Regions from separate parts of the Homo sapiens genome. Here all the other regions are linked to region 2. Evidence: promoter capture Hi-C in 16 types of primary human blood cells and fetal thymus (Javierre and others, 2016). All regions are on one chromosome and are shown on one strand. The core of a region is centred on a gene start or on the middle of the fragment in contact, and the rest is flanking DNA. Distances in the headings are between cores, read along the strand shown. Region 1 overlaps FLI1 (Fli-1 proto-oncogene, ETS transcription factor). Region 2 holds the start of PRDM10 (PR/SET domain 10). Region 3 overlaps ETS1 (ETS proto-oncogene 1, transcription factor).

The links. The method cuts DNA at HindIII sites, captures the fragments that hold promoters and counts their contacts. A CHiCAGO score of 5 or more calls a contact.
Region 1: a fragment that was not itself captured here is called in contact with the fragment with the promoter of PRDM10 in region 2 in 1 of 17 cell types (neutrophils); the score reaches 6.4 in neutrophils.
Region 3: a contact is called between a fragment that was not itself captured here and the fragment with the promoter of PRDM10 in region 2, in 1 of 17 cell types (neutrophils). The highest score is 6.1, in neutrophils.

Annotation. Positions count from the first base shown.
Region 1 is chr11:128,729,239-128,732,655 of GRCh38, reverse strand. The region is part of intron 1 of FLI1 (Fli-1 proto-oncogene, ETS transcription factor); the gene reads right to left. Among named protein-coding and RNA genes, the nearest start is that of SENCR, 35 kb to the right of the region's middle. The HindIII fragment of the contact is 3,055 bases long and covers 357-3,411 here.
Region 2 is chr11:130,001,431-130,004,528 of GRCh38, reverse strand. It overlaps PRDM10 (PR/SET domain 10), which reads left to right and starts at 1,694. Exons shown (of 21, transcript NM_199437.2): 1 at 1,694-1,807. PRDM10-DT (PRDM10 divergent transcript) reads right to left here and starts at 1,905. Exons shown (of 1, transcript NR_024233.1): 1 at 1-1,905. RefSeq lists silencers at 971-1,360, 2,071-2,390, 2,401-2,450, 2,481-2,660 and an enhancer at 1,471-1,560. The HindIII fragment of the contact is 10,759 bases long and covers 1,309-3,098 here.
Region 3 is chr11:128,518,252-128,521,513 of GRCh38, reverse strand. The region is part of intron 3 of ETS1 (ETS proto-oncogene 1, transcription factor); the gene reads left to right. Among named protein-coding and RNA genes, the nearest start is that of MIR6090, 2.5 kb to the left of the region's middle. The HindIII fragment of the contact is 2,871 bases long and covers 1-2,734 here.

The sequences.
Region 1 (3,417 bases), core at 635-3,134, 1.3 Mb after region 2:
CTTGACTTCTCCAATCCCAGGCTTGTATCTATCCGGCCTTAACGTCTTTCTCAGAGCACTCTAGTTTTTCTTCATAATACCTACCACATGTATAATTAGATATTCACCTATGCAAAAGTGTGATTTGTGTCGCTCTCCCATTGGACTACACTCAATGGAGGCAGGGTCTTCCTCTGTTTTGTTCACCTGTGTCCCCAAGGACTTAGCACAATGCCTGGCAGAGTATGCACTCCAAAACTATTTGTCACATGAAAGACTTTCAAAGTTTTTATTTAGCAGCCCATATAGAACATGAGAGTCAAAATGACATAGACTCACGTTGGTTCTGTCTGCCCATCAGAATTTCCTGAAAAGCTTTTTTAAGATGCACGGTTCTACCTTAGATGTCCTAGATGAGAAGGGGGGAAGATAGCTGGAGAATAATCTGGTACTGATTGGCTGAATGGATGGAGAAAGAAGGGAACCAGTGAATTTTTTTCTGGCCTCTTCTGCTATAGGATTTTAGACAAGGCTCAGCATGCTTTGGTGCCTTAATTTATTTCACTGTTTAGTAAAGCTGGAGTCACATTTACCACTCATCTCTTCTCCAAAATTGCATGACATGTCTAGTTAAGCAATTTTTGTTTCTTTTCTTTTCTTTTCTTTTTTTTTTTGAGATGGAGTCTCGCTCTGTCCACCAGCCTGGAGCACAGTGGCACGATCTCGGCTCACTGCAACCTCCGCCTCCCGGTTCGAAGTGATTCTCCTGCCTCAGCCTCCGAAGTGGCTGGAATTACAGGCGTGTGCCACCACACTAAGCTAATTTTTGTATTTTTATTAGAGACAAGGTTTTGCCATGTTGGCCAGGCTGATCTCGAACTCCTGACCTCAAGTGATTTGCCCGCCTCCGCCTCCCAAAGTGCTGGATTACAGGCCTGAGCCGCTGCGCCCCATCTACTTAAGCATTTTGAAATCTTAAAATAGGAGACGGTTCTGAGGTCAAATCACGATGACCGTTTCTAGCATGATGGCTTTTCAGCACATGGCTATGAACTTTGGGTTTTGCCAAATGATTTTTCATGCAAGTTCACTCAGGAAGGGTTTTTTTGTTTGTTTTTTGTTTTATTTTTGTTTTTTGTTTTGTTTTTGTTTTTTGTTTGTTTTTTCTGACACGGCCCCTTTAACAGAAAAAAAAAAGGGCTGCTCAATTTGTTAACCACCCTTTCATACTTGACCTCTTGTTTTGTGGTGCAAAAGTTACACGAGCAGACCGTTAGACAAGCACACTGGCTCGCTGGTGTGTTTTGCACCATCTATCTGCAGCCAGGCAACCTGTGCTCAGAGAAGATGAGAGCAAACTCACCAACCCCCCCACATTTAGGTCCTAAGGGCTCCCTGCCCCTGAGCAGTGCTGGGGTTAGTCCAGCCCAGGTCATAAGCAGCACAGGAAGCAGAGGGCATGGCTAATGTACATGTCACCGTGTGGCTTATGGTCACAGCCTCACCCTACCTTCAAACCTGTGCAAGCTGCAAGAGCAACAGGAAACGGCCAAGCGTCTATATATAGCCACATTGAACTTATCCAAAGGTGCTGTTTTGCACAGATTATTATGAACTTCTTTCACGGGGAGAGGACATGATGGCATGTGCCTTTTCCTCAGGACCTCTCGAAGCACTTGTAAAATTAACTACTCCACCTGAGAAGGAAGAAGGATGTTACACCTTTTGGTTTCTTCATTTTCAAGGCAAACAGACTGGTGCCTTTTCTTTTGCAAAAGATTTCCGGACACATTCAGCAAAGGCTAAGAAAGGATGGGAAACGGCAATGGAAGCATGCAGGATTTCTGTGAGCCTCTAAATACAGCCCATTGGGAAAACCATTCATTCCATAGATTGAGTTTCCCTTGAAAATCATTAATTAGTCTTTGCTTCTCCCTAATACATTTCCCTGGCAAATAAATAAATACACCCCTTCGTGGTGTATCCATCACGCAGCCCTTGGTGTAGCTCTCCCAAGATCCCAAGAGGCAGAGACAAAAGGAGTGGGTGTCAGGGCTTGAAGGGCCCAGCACCACAGACCACCTTTGTTCTCAAAGGGAAGCCTTCAAAAAGAAATGAAAACATGTGTCTGTTCCAGAGCCCTTCTTTACTGCTTTGGAAGTGACTTTCTGGGACTGCCAGTGTATTTATCAGCATTCTAGAATAGAATGCATGTTCTTGATACTGAGCCTGACTTTAGTAGCACCGATTTGCTCCTTACCCAGCTCTTCTCCCTATTGAGTAAGCACAGAAATGAATAGGATGAGCAGCGCAGCTACTGAGAGGCTGACCCACAAAGGTGAGCGTAAACGTGTGGCCTACACCCGCAGTCTGGGTGACCTCAGCCAATTAGGAAACCTCTTTGAGATTCCAGTTTTCATCTGTAAAATAGGGTTGTGAGGATGGAATGAGAGGATATAAGTAAAGTTTTTAACACAGTACACACTTAACAAATGCACAATACAAGGTAGGCATAGTCAAGGTGGTGATAATATACAAATCAGAGTGGGACTTGAGAACAGAAAGAATCCAGATTTCAAGATTTTCGACTTTTCTGTTTCCTGAAACTTCCCTTGCTAACTCAGTTGGCTAGCTCTGGCAACATGAATGAACTTTGTGTTCTGATATTAGAAATGTTTCAAGGTCAAATGCCAGATCAACATAGTTTCCTCAGAGCACTCCCTAACACAGGGCCACTTAATCAACATGGTGCCTAAAAGGTGCAGTTCTTCTGTTCTGAAAAGGCATTAAAGTTATAGAATTGCATTTTGAAAAAATAAGCATCTCTTTAGCAAAAATCATTCTGGAGAACAAGGTCAAAATGCTTCCCATCTCCACAGTCCCACCAGCCAGTACCTGGGACATGCTCTTCCAGCCTGGTTCTCAAGAACCGGGCTCTTGGAATGGGGAAGGAGAGGTGAATGATCTGGTTGCCATCCTTTTAAAAAGGGGTGACAGGTATGTGCATTGATTTAGTGTACATGACGACTGGTAAAAGGACACCAAAGGGAGCAAAAGGGGACCTCAGTTGTCCTGAGTCCTGAGTTCATTCTGGAGCCTGCTTGGTGCACTCGTGTTTCCCCCGGGCAGTGCCATATGCCTCACATACCTCCACTCTGATCCTTTTCTTTTCCCACCTCTTTAAATGCAAAGCATCGCCAACCATTGTTCAGTCTCATCACTGAAAGCTGAACACACAGTGGCAGAGGCCAAAGCCTGTGGCTGTGTGTGCCTGAGATTAAGACTTTTATCTGATCTTTGACAACTTGCAGAGGAAATCCTGTTCCAAAACTCACAGCCCTGAGAGAAGGGTTGCCAGCAGTTCTTCCCTCCCACCTGTGAGATAAATCAGGGCACTTGAAATGCGAACATGGTTGATAAATATAATAAGCTTGCCTC
Region 2 (3,098 bases), core at 445-2,944:
CTCAAGCGATCCACCCGCCTCGGCCTCCCAAAATTCTGGGATTACAGGCGTGAGCCACCGCACCCTGTCACGAAGTTTAAAAAAAAAAAAAAGCTCTCTTTTCTTTCCACGTTGTTTCCAGCTATTTAAAGAAACAAAATGGTAGACTAGACGCAGTGGCTCACATCTGTAATCCCAGCAATTTGGAAGGCCAAGGCGGGAGAATCACTTGACGTTAGAGTTTGAGACCAGCCTGGCCAACATGGGGAAACCCCATCTCTACTGAAAATACAAAAATTAGCCGGGCGTGGTGGTGCATGCCTGTAATCTCAGCTACTAGAGAGGCTGAGGCAGGAGAATCGCTTGAACCCGGGAGGCAGAGGTTGCAATGAGCCCAGATCTCACCACTGCACTCCAGCCTGGGCAACAGAGCGAGACTCCGTATCAAAAAACAAAACAACAAAACAAAACAAAAAACAGTAAAGAGAATACTATTGAGTTAATTTTACAGTTTTTCACGCTGTGGGTGTTTTCTATTCTCGTCTTTTGCTTAGCTGTCCTGTCTCCCTCTTTTTCTCAGGCAATAGTTTAGGATTTTTGTAAGTTATATTGTCAGTACTTCTCATTTAAGTTCCAGACAGTGTGCTAAGCAAAGCACTTTACTCGGTAAAGTAAGAGCTCACTTAATCTTCAAAATAACGTAGCAAGGTAGATATCACGAACATAGCAAGGTAGATATCACCGAAGGGAAAACCGCTCCCCGAAGGTCCGAAGGTCCAAGGTCTCTCTGCCATCTAGCTGCCCTGCGTATTGCCTGCCAGTGGGTAGTTGGAGCTGGGTATCTCTCCAAAGCTGGGCTCTTGGCTGCCCTTTGTGAAGGCAATTTTAAGGGACAGCAGGATGTGGAAGCCTGCGGTTAAGGAGTGAGCTGAGTCACTGGGTAACCAGTGTTGAATAATGTTTCTCAATGTCTGAAATGACACTCACTTCCTTTCCAGATTGGTAGAGGAGAAAAAAGAGGCGCAGTGAAAGCGCTCTCAAGGTGCGGTGGGTCAGGGTGATAGGCGGCGCCCGGCCGCTCCCTGGGGGTCCTGAGGGCGAGACCCCGGCAGGCTCCCGACTCCGGGAGCCGGGCGGGAGTTCGGTTTTCGCCGGCGCTCCACGGCCAGGCCACTTCGGAGGCAATCTGTGGCGGGGCGGGCGGACGCGAGGGCCGCCTCACCCCCGCGCGTCTTCCGGGACACCGGGCCCTCGGGCGCGCGGGAGGCGGGCTTAGCACGGGCGCAGGCTGCCCTCGGCGCCCGAGACACCCAGGCACAGCTGGAAGCTTCCTCCCCGTTAGCACGCGGGCCGCAGCGGGGGCTTGACCCCAATGCGAAGAGTCGGGTTTTCTGATTGGCTGAGAGTAGAAACGCAGGCGAGCGCCGCCTGAGACCCGCTCTGCGATTGGGTTTTACACGAACAGCAGAGCACGAAATAAAGAGGCCTTCAGTCATTGGGCCATTATGTGAATCTCCTTTTGGCTTCTCTGCAGACTGAATAAGCGTCTCAGGATCTTCGTCATGACTCCTAAATCTGGGCCTGTCAGTTCGCCCCAGCGTTTCTCGTCTCTAGGCACGGCATGGGGCTTACAGAGTTTAACCAATCATATAACGTCGAGATCAGGTTGCCAGGCAGATTATGCTAATAAGACCCCGCCTTTTATGCTGCTCCCACTCTGCGGCGGGAAGAACCACCTGGAGGTGGCGGGGGGGGTTGATTTCTATCACCCCTAGGGAGAGAGGATCGGGGACCCGCTGATCTTCCAGCTCCCCTCACCCAACGTCGTGTAAGTACCTAAAGGATTAAGGGAACCAGATAAGCCAGGGTCCAGACTACCCCATAGACTGGGAGGGTGTTTCGTCTTTGCTTAGTCCCACCCAAAATGGCGCCCAGCTCTTTCCGCGTCTCAGAGCCCGGCCGGGGCCAACCGACCGCGGACCCGGGTGGGGGGGGAATTGATGGTGGTGGTGGGGGGGAGAAATCCCGGCGGCACCGCCCGATGGTACAGTCCAGCCGGGGCTGGGACGAGGCACCTCACTCGGGGTGGGGGGTCAAACCATCTGCACCTTCCAAGGGGAAGAGGGCAAGGCCCCCTCCAGCAGGCCCTCCTGGCGCCGCGTTCAGCGCCGGCCTCGGCGTCTCGTCGCCCCTGCCTTCGCCGCGCGCAGCCTCCCCCTGCGACCCCCGAGTGGCTCGCACGCTCCGCCGGCCGCGCGCACCTCTCCTCCCCTGCCCGCGTTGGTTGGGCCGGGACGGCGGTTGGGCGGCCTGCGCGCTCCGGCGGCGGCGGTTGCGCGGGCGCTCCGGGCGCGGCGGGCAGGTCTCCGCCGGCCGGGAGCCGAGCACCGGGGGCTGGGGGCCGGGCGCCGGGCTGGGGGTGGCAGTGCGGGCAGGGCTCCGGGGCTGGCCGGTTGCGGGCGCGTGGGGCGGAGGGTCCTGTTCGATGGGGCGCCCAGCTTTGTCTGCGGAGGCCGCGCCGCCCACTTGCCATCGATGGCTGGGCCCCCGGCCTGCCTTCCCAAGCTAGCGTCCGGGACCGGGGCGGGGGGCCGGCCCGCAGGGGTGTGGGGTGGCCCCTGCGGGTCTGTCCCGTGGCACCGCGTCGGGGCTGGCCGGGCGGAGGCGGAGGCCGAGGCCGGGGTCGCGGCCCTGCCCCAGTCCGCCTGCACCCAGGGTGCAGCGCAGAGGCAGGGCGAGGCCGGTCGGCGCTCGGGAGAGGGCTGATGGTGTGCACCTCTCCAGCCCCTCGCCAGCTTTTGTTAAGCAGGTTTAACCCTGCAGCTAGGTGTTGATACTCTACTAAGTAAAATGGAATATTCCCCGTCTGCCCTCCAGCCACGCGAACGCAGCGCTGTTGAATTTGTGTGCGCGCCTTTAGCCTTGCTTGGTGGATGAGTTGGATTTTAGTGCATTTTCAATCAATGTGCGTGTACACTTAAGCACAAGGAGAGGTGGCTTTGTGCTGTCATCGAGGATTAGATGTGTGATGAGACCCACCCAGCTCTGCCCTGTGCCCTAATTCTGCTGCTTTGCCTGTTGAAACCTTGCCTGTCTCGTCACCCCAAATTCTCTAAACT
Region 3 (3,262 bases), core at 50-2,549, 1.5 Mb after region 2:
AGAACTGAGGCTGGGTGGAGGGCCCCGGGCAGTCTAACGGGTTGGCCTTCAGGCAGATTTTCAAATAAGGTCTTGCCTCCCCAAGCGTCCCTGTCACATGCCTTGCCCCTCTTTTCTGGGTTGAGGGTAAGGAGATCGGAGGAGAATTGAAATTATCCTCTTAACTTTGAGAAACGTCCGACCCTATTCATGTAGGTTACTTACTTTACCCATGTTTCTAATCTGCCATAAATTTTTCTTCTGGTACCAAAGGTCCGTTGGAAGGAAAGCATCAAACACCCAAATGTGACTTTGTGTCTTTGGTACATGGTGTTGTCCAACTCTTTCATTTATATGCATTTGAAGAAGAGAAGGATAGGAAGTAATTTTTTTTTTTTTTGTCTTTGACACAAATATTGGTGCTAAGCAACTTAAGAGAGTCTGGCCTTACAGAATTTCTGAAACAAATGTAGTTTGAGAGGGAAAGATGCTTTCTTTTAGGATAAGGCACTGCCAGCTATCCTTAGAGATGAGTGATTTTGGAGGTGAAAGTATATAGAAAGATCTAGGGAGAAGGCAGTGCACCCTGGAAAATAATTAATTTCAAGAACAGGCTCCTCTGTTGTATCTGATTATCAATAAGTTTAGTTGCTGCCCCCTGTGGTTAACACTTCTTTGCCTCTGCCATAATTTATTGCTTACTTTAACCCTTTCTTACGCTGCTTAAACTTTCAGCACAACCATACTGATGTTTTGTCATTCTGAGGTCCTTCAGAAATATTAATAAAGACATGTAGGTCACGTCCCCTCCCTCTGGGTCCCCTGACATTCAGCTCCAGGGCTGCTGTGCACAGAAGGCTGAGATTTTGTCTCCTCGCAAGGATGATGGTGGTGGGAGCAATGCTGAGAGCGCAGCTGGAACCATGGAGACATTTAAGGCACTTAGGCCTACAATTCAGAAATGCTGTTTCTATGATGGTTGTGTTTGGGGGTTCGAGGAAGCTAGAATGAGTTCTGTTTGTCAGTTGATTGAAACCATATATAGAAGTGAAAAGATAGTTCACATCAAAGATATAAACTCAACTAATAGGTCCTTTCCTTAAGAACAGCTTGTTTATATGTGTTGTTATGGGTGTTTATGGGGGAAGAGACAGATTTGGTCATCTGGGAAATATCGTGTCGATATGTCAGTCCACATACCTACAAGGGATCTTTCATCCTGGGAATGAAAAAGAGCCCTGGCAACACATGTTTCAGATCACAGTGAACAGCTGAGGCAATTTTTTTGGTAATTTAATATTAAATATTAGAGACAATGTATATGGTGCCGTCATTTCAGTTACTGATTAAAAATAAGCTCTGGGCAAGTAACTTTCTTTAGCTTTCTATTCTGTAAAATGGGAACAATAAGGCCTAACGCTACAGTCAGCGTCCATTATAATAAGCATATTTGCAATGGCTTTCTTTTTCAAAAAAGATTTCCAAGCCATTGGTCATCTTTTGTATGTGAACTTCGATACAACAAAATTTCAACTGGCCAAAGAAATTGGGCAGTCTTCTGCCATTCATTGTAAAGAGGTTTGATTTCTAGCACCATTATTTATTATCTTGGAAAAAATAAAGACAAAAACTTGAAAAAATATATAGACTATAATCAACTTTTTTTTTTCTGGACCTTTAGTTGCTTATATGCGAACATTATGCCCATACCTCAGAGAGGAAAATAGAGTCACAGGAAAGGTAAATAATTGACATAAAAATATGTAGTGAGCCAGTGGCTGAAGTACAATCAATTCCTGTTTCTAACTTCGCAATGTATATTGCTTTGAGTAATGTTGCAAGATACCTTCCAAAAGCTCAGCAAAGAAACCTCAGCTGAGACTTAACTTGCAGGTGCAAAGCAAGGATGGGAGAAACGGTGTTTCTGGCCAGGGCTGTCTGCTTTTGTTAGTGGAAGGACAAGACATTGGCTAAGTGCGGATTTGCCTTGCCCATCAGACCATATAGGACATGTGTTTAAAGTTTAACTTCTCACAGCGTAGCTTTTTATCCACAGCTGTGACTTAAATATTTGTCAGAATGATTTCTTTGGGTTGCTTAGTTTCTTATGTGTGGAGACAGCTAGTGTGGGATCTTATCTGGCTTAAATGATTAAACCAGAATTTTCTCCCCACCCCCTCCCAAATTCATGAGTGCCAAAGAGAGGCAGTAAGAAAGTGGGGTGTCCAAACAGGAGCCGCAAGACCTGGATTATTTGTTTTCCTGGCTAGGACCTGACCAAGAACCTTTATGCACTTTTATTCTATTTTGAGACTTCACAGGAGTTTGACAGCGTTAAGTGCTAAATTAACATATACTCTGAAATAACAGTAGAATTGACTTTTCCTTGCAAGTGTAAGAGTAAGGTGGGATATGCTATTTGATTGCAACAGTGTGATTGCAAGGATCTTAAATAGCTTAAAAACAAATATAGCCATTGGGTTCACTCCTGGTTCTCTCCTGGTGGAGCCTGCTGTGAAGGGGCCAGGTGCCAAAGCCAACACATTCCCAAGCCACTTAATTTTTCCTTTCCTTCAACACTCTGCTCTACCTTCTTGGTGAGGTGAGCTTAATGTCCAGATAAGAGCAGGAGCTCTAATCCTGGATACTTGCTGTTCTATAAGAATAAAAGGATCAGCCTCTCACCCCACCCGCCCTCAGCAGAGGGTGTACATCCATCGGGAACATGCGTTATACTTAGAGATAGGAAGAAGCTTTGTCCTTGCTCAGCTTGGTCAGTCTTTGTTTCTTCATCAGTGTAGACAAGAAAGAAGGGCAGAGCTGCCCAGTCTATTAGATCACTTGCTCACTGTGCTCCCAGATCCCCGCCGACCATACTCCATTAGAGACTAAAGAGCTCTATGGTTCAGAGCAGAGACTCTGGAGCCAGCCTGTCTGGATTTGAATCTCAGCTCGGCCACTTAGCAGCTGTGTGACTTTGGACAAATGACTTAATCTCTCTGTGCTCCAGCTTCTGCATCTATAAAATGAGTACAATCATTCTACTTCATAGGATGAATATCAGGATTAAATCTATGAATATGTGCAAAATCTTAAAACAGTGCCTGATCCATAATAAATACTATTTAGCAGTTAACTACAGAGCAAGTCAACAAAAAATGATCCTGATCAGTGTAGAATTTTCAGAGGCCCTTGAATGTTTGTTAGAAGATAAGGTGGCTGTGTTATGTACCTCCTGATAATCTATTATTTTAGAGGGAAAGAAGAGTAAAGTTAAGGAGGA